2 separate regions of the Homo sapiens genome follow, and region 2 is linked to region 1. The links are contacts of gene promoters, found by promoter capture Hi-C in blood cells and fetal thymus (Javierre and others, 2016). All regions are on one chromosome and are shown on one strand. Each heading gives the region's core, a stretch centred on a gene start or on the middle of the fragment in contact. The rest is flanking DNA. Distances are from core to core; before and after follow the strand shown. Region 1 holds the start of ARTN (artemin). Region 2 overlaps ST3GAL3 (ST3 beta-galactoside alpha-2,3-sialyltransferase 3).

What was found. Contacts are between HindIII fragments. The CHiCAGO score rates a contact against its expected background, and 5 or more counts as called.
Region 2: a fragment that was not itself captured here is called in contact with the fragment with the promoter of ARTN in region 1 in 2 of 17 cell types (endothelial precursors and M2 macrophages); the score reaches 5.3 in endothelial precursors.

The regions. Positions count from the first base shown.
Region 1 is chr1:43,932,332-43,935,065 of GRCh38, reverse strand. It overlaps ARTN (artemin), which reads right to left and starts at 1,265. Exons shown (of 5, transcript NM_057091.3): 1 at 1,181-1,265; 2 at 806-954. RefSeq lists silencers at 624-673, 1,224-1,313 and enhancers at 1,824-1,873, 2,503-2,734. The HindIII fragment of the contact is 8,131 bases long and covers 1-2,734 here.
Region 2 is chr1:43,821,263-43,824,423 of GRCh38, reverse strand. The region is part of intron 4 of ST3GAL3 (ST3 beta-galactoside alpha-2,3-sialyltransferase 3); the gene reads right to left. Among named protein-coding and RNA genes, the nearest start is that of MIR6079, 16 kb to the left of the region's middle. RefSeq lists an enhancer at 1,854-3,053. The HindIII fragment of the contact is 2,881 bases long and covers 415-3,161 here.

The DNA of each region.
Region 1 (2,734 bases), core at 16-2,515:
ACTGTGTTCTGGACCCAGAGCCACCTGAGTTCTCTCCTCTGACTATAGGTGTCCCTCGATGACCACAGAGCCGGGGGATGGTGGGAGCTAATGGGCCCTCTGAAAACATGGGGCCTGGGTCATGGCTTCCTGTGGCCACAAGGGGGCAGAGTCTGCCAAGCCTGCAGATTCCAAGCAGGGTGGGCTTTTCCATCCCCTCAGCTACACTCAGGCCTGAGCCACTCCCAGGAGGGCCAGCTAGGCTTCCATACCAGCCTGGTCTCTGAGAGCTGAGCCACCCTGGGAGCTGGTCTAGGTCTGTCCCCCTCCCAGCCTCCTATGGATCTGGCAGCCTAGTCATGCTCCTAGAAGTTTCCCCCTTGAGCCATCGTTCCTGATCCCAGCCAGCCTTCCTGAGCTCCCACTGCTAGCACTCCCAAACACCCTTTTGGGGCCCTAGAGCCTTCGTAAGTCCTCATTAGCCAGCCTCCTCTTGGGTCCCAGCTACCACCCTCATCCCCATCCTTTAGCACACAGAATGCCTGCACACCTGTGGAACAGACCCCCAGGCCTTCCCGGGGTTGTCCTCCAGGTCCTGGTGTGTGCCTCTTGGCTAAGTGGAATCAAGGCCTCCGAGCCAGGCCAGTGACTGTTGTCCGTGATGGAGGGAAAGGCAGGCAGGGCAGCCTTAGGAGCCCTCTGCGCTAGGGGGAGCCCGGGAGCAGGTCTCTTGAGGGCAGCTCAGGCCCTGCCTCCTACCTCCTTGTGGTCTAGGGCCATTTGGTTCTCTGGCCCTTGCCTCCCCATCCACCAGCCCGCTACTCACCACGGGGTCCTGCACCTTGTTCTTCTAGGCACCTTTCCGGGGACCAGTGCTGGGCTCTCCCCCGAAGCTCAAACAGCGCATGCCCAGGACTGTACACCTGGCAGTGCCTCTTTTAGCCAAAAGTGTGGCCTTGGCAGCCAGTCTGCACCCTGTAGCGGCAGCGGGAGCCTCACATTACAGTGGGCCGGCAAGGCCAGCACAGTCCAACAAGCGACAAGAGGGACTGAGGGGCTGGGAGGGGCGGAGAACTGTGCCGAGGGCCCAAGAGAGGGAGGATGCAAGAAAGGAGAGGAGGGGGGTGGTCCTGTCCTCTCCCCCAGCCCAAGAGCGTCCATCCAGGGCTGGGACCAGAAACAGGCAAGTGGGCTGGCTTACCTCGGGTGTGGGGCTCCAGGCCCGGGTGGCAGCGAGGGCTGGGGCCCGAGGGACCTGCTGCTGGCGGAGCCCCCGGGCCTTGTCTGGGGGCCGGGCCCAACTCCATCCCTCAGCAGCCTCCTGCCCGCCGCCGCAGCCGTCCGGTGTCAAATTCCAGCCCCAGCGTCACCAGATCCCGGGGTGGGGCTGGGAGCGCCCCTGCCCCGCCCCACCTTTCGGGGCTCACCTGGCTGCTCCACCCGTCGGATCCAGTCCCCCCTAGCTTGGCTAGGTCCCCCGAGGTTGGGAGGGGGGTAGATGCTGGGAGGGGCCCCTCGGATATGGAGAGTAGAGAACTCGAGCGGTGGAGAGGCACGGAAACCGGGAGTTGAGTTTGTAGACTCGCGAAGTAGAGAGCTGGGAGGCCGGGCCGAGGGCGGGAGAAAGTGAGTGAGGGCGGGGAGCGAGGGGTAAGCCGGTCCCTGCGTGGGGCGGCTGACTGCTGGTACGTGCAGATTTGGGGGTCCGGCTGTCTGCCCTGCAGCAGCTGCTCTCTGCTCCACCCGATTCTTCTCTCAGCGGCCAGTTCACCTGCCTTGTTGGGTTGCTTAGCCTCTGCGCAGCTTTCAGGATCTGACTCTGCTCTAGTCTCCCCACAGCTCACCTCCTGTGCTGCTTAGGGCTTGGAGTACGGACACACTTGCAAACACGGGAGTCACTGGGGCACAGCAGGGGCAGTGTTGGCAGAAGTGGGTACTGAGGGCTGAAGGCAGGGGTCACAGAGGAGGAACATCTGAGCTGAGTCTTGAAGTAGGTAGCTGGAGGGCAGCATTTCAGATGCCTAATTATGGCAATTTGGCAGGTGGGTTGAGGGCTGGGTGAGTAACATGGATGGAAAGATCCTAACACTGGGGACCATGGGAGGGTTTTGAGCAGAATGGTGTAATCAGACAGGCATTTTTTGTGGATGACTCTGGCTGTAGTAAAGAGGATGGGGTTGGAGAGAAAGGTGGAGGCTGCTGTGGAAAGAGGATGAGGTCTGATGCAGGGCATGAGGGGAGCGTGGGGCTGCCAGGCCCCAATCTGGAACACGCAATTTTGAAAATTCATTAGTGCCTGACTGGATAGGGTGAGGAGGTAGGTAGACCCTGCAAAAGTGTGCCTTTGGCGGGGTGACCTGGGGGAGGGGTACATCCCGGCTCCTGGGAGGAAAGGCAGGGGCTCATGAGTTCGGTGTTGGACATGTTGAGTTGGAAGGGCCTGTGGATTATCCAAGTGGAAATGTTCAGGAAGCCGGTGAATTTGTAGCCTGGAAGGAAGCAGAGAGAGCTGCGCTGGCAAAGGCAATTTGGGAATTGTCAACCAACTGGCAATTGGAAGCTGTGGTCAGGGATGAGAGTGCTGGGGATGTGTGTGGACCAGCTGTACCCTGGCTATGCTTCTGAACCACTAGGGACCTTTAAAAACTACCCACATCCGGGCCTCAACCCAGACCCAAATCAGACTTTCAGGGTGGACATGTGCAGTTTTCAAATTGCACAGGTGATTCTGGTGCATGGCCAGGGCTCAGAACCA
Region 2 (3,161 bases), core at 606-3,105, 110 kb after region 1:
AGCCAAGAGAAAGTATCCCTCCCACCACACACACACCCCTTTCCTCTTTTTTTTTTTTTTAAGGCATTAAAGAGAAGCTGGCCATCTGAAGTCAGCATGATGGTGGCAGAAGTTCTTCAAGTGACAGTCTCTCCAGGAGATGGGGAAAGTCAGGGTTAGATAAAGGAAGGGGCCACCTGACAGTCCTCACCACTGTACTCCGTCTCCCTAAAAATCTTCTAATAACAATATTTGAAAGATCTGGATTTTGTTATTAAAGGTGGCTCTATTCTTTCTTACTCATACCCTCTTCCTTCTGTCCTCGATTGATTGAACAAATATTTACTGAATATTTACTATGCACATAAACACTATACTAGGCATTGTGAATATATCTGTGAGCAGAACATTCCTAGTTCTTGCCCTTACAAAGCTTTCGGTATAGTTAAAACATAGGATAAAACTGACTGTGAATTTGGAAAAAACAGAAAGCTAAGTTGAATAGTGAGAAAAGTAAAAAAGTTTGGAGCCAGGCAGAGAAGGGTTCAAAGACTGGCTTGATCACATTTAGTTCTGTGAACATAAGCAAATTACTTATCCCTTCTATATCATTTTCACATTTGTTAAAATGCATTTAAATACCATCTACTTCACAGAGTTGTCCACCATTTATCCATGCAACAAATATTTATTAATTGATCACTAAGTAATACAGTAGATACTGGTTTTGGTGTTAGAAAATAGTAGGGAACAAAACAGAAGAAACACTCTAGTAGATGGAGACAGACAATAAACAAGTAAATAAAACATATGTGGCATCCGAGAGTGATAGATACCCTGGAGAAAATGACACAGTAAAGGGGAACAGGGAACGCCAATAGGGGATGGGGCTATGATTTTAAATGGGATGGGCAAAGGAGACTTTATTAAGAAGGTGACATTTGAACTATGTTCTAAAAAGGCAAGAGAGTGCGCAATCTCTTCAGGTATCTGGGGAAGAGTGTTCCAGACAAGGGAATGAGCAAATGCCAAGAGTCTGAGGCGGGAACAGGTCTGGAATATCCGAATCACAGCAAGGAGCGCAGGATAAAACAATAAACAAGAAGGAGAGCAACAAGAAACGAAGGTGTGGACCATGTAGGGCCTTGATGAGCACTATAAAGGTTCTGGCTCTCATTCTACAAGAAATGGGGAGCCATTGGGGAGTTCTGATCACAGGAGTAACAAGATCTATCTTGTATTTTAATGGGATCACTTTGGCTTCAGTGTGGAAATAGACCACAGAGAAGCAAGCATAAAATCTGGAAGACTAGTTAGGAGTGCAAAAATTAGGTGAGAGATGGTGGTTTGGACAGAGTGATGATACAGAGGTAGTGAGAAGTGGCTGGATCTGAGGATATTAAGGTAAAGCTAATAAGGTTTGCTGATATCAGATTTGAGTGTCAAAGAAATGATGCTACAGTATTTGATGTGAGCAATTGGAAGGATGTAGTTAGCTGCCATTTCCTGGGGTAGAAAAGATTCTGGGAGGCAGGGGTGTGAATCTGGAGTTTGGTTCTGGACATGTTAAGTGTGAGATGCCTAATACATATCCAAATGAAGGAAGCAATTGGGTAAATGAGTCTGGAGTGTGGGGAAAGAGAACTGGGCTTGATATAAATATAGGAGTCATCAGCATATAGATGATATTTAAAGCCATGATACCGGATTAGATTATCTAAGCAAATGTTGTGGGAACAGGTAACATAGAAAGTACCTAGTGCACCACTGGGCATATAGTAGGTGCTCAATAAATGCTTTCCCCTTGCAGCCCTAGGGAACTTGACAGGCTGTTTTAGAAGTGTTAAACTCACCTCAGGCTATATTTAGACTGCTCCATGTTTATACACTATTACAAATGACCTGGTTTTTCACAAGGCTCTGGGGGTTAAGAGTTGTTTGCTTTCATTTTCATATTTTTGTGTCTTCACATGGAATTCCTTATGAAATTAGACTGAGCATTAAAGTCCCCATGCTCTTGCCCACATGGCAACTGTAAAACACCACACTGTGGCAGCAGACAGGAGCTTTCCCAGAGCACAGAGCACCTGCCCACACCCAGCAGAAATAGATGAAACTTCCATTTAATTAAATCTGCTCCCAGAAGGCCCACGTCGGCTCAGGAAAGTCACACTTGGACACCAGGATCTGGCTCCTTCAAGGAATCCAGATGACTCATCTCTCTCCTGGACTAATGGGCACATTCCTGGCTCGTTGTGTCATATTCCTTATAATGGAGACTGAGATTTCCTTAGGGTTCTTCCTGGAATGCTCTGCCTCTCTTCCTTTGACTCTTTCCTCAAATGTCACCTTCTCAATGAATTCTACTTTGACTGTCCCATTGCAACTTGCAATCTCTTCAACAGCATTCCCTTGTCTTGCTCTATTTTCTTTCACAGCACTTATCACCTTCCAAAATCCTAAAAACTTTATTTATAATAATTTTTGTTTATTGATTGTCTTGTTCACTGGTATATCCTCAGACCACAGAATATTGCCTGATACATATTAGTTGCTCAACAAATCTGTTAACTGAATGAGGGAGTATCCACTTTGTTGTCGGGGCAAGAGCCTTTACCCCTGAGACTTTTCGAGGCCCTCAACTTTGAGCCAGACCACAGTAGACCCCTTTCAGAGAGCAGATGTGCCTCCTTGGAGGTATCCTTAAATCAGGTTGTGGCTGCCTGCACGTAGCAGCCTGAGTGCCCAACCCCTGGGGAAGACGGGGTCAATTCTCAGGCAACCACAAGGCTGGCAATGTCACCAACTCACCAGTCTCACATTCTAGTTATTCCTGTTTCTCTCCAAACCATATTCTTCTCAGTTTTCTTATCCTCAAGTCACTGCTCTCTGCTTCTTCTTGGTCCAATTTCCTACTTCTCCCCTGGCACGGTCCACATTCTAACTTTCAATTATGTGGCATAAAACTGTGTTCCTTTATATCCTCAAACTCTTCGGTGAATGTTCCTTCCATTTTTGCTTTCATAGAAACCTGGGTCTCTCGGGAAAACGCCATTTTTACAGCCCTCTGCAAAGGAGGCTGCTCTTTCATCTATACTTCATGGACCTTGGGATCCCTGGTTATCCTTTTTGTACTCCATTAATGCTTCCAAATCACCAATATGTCATGCTTATTATAAAAA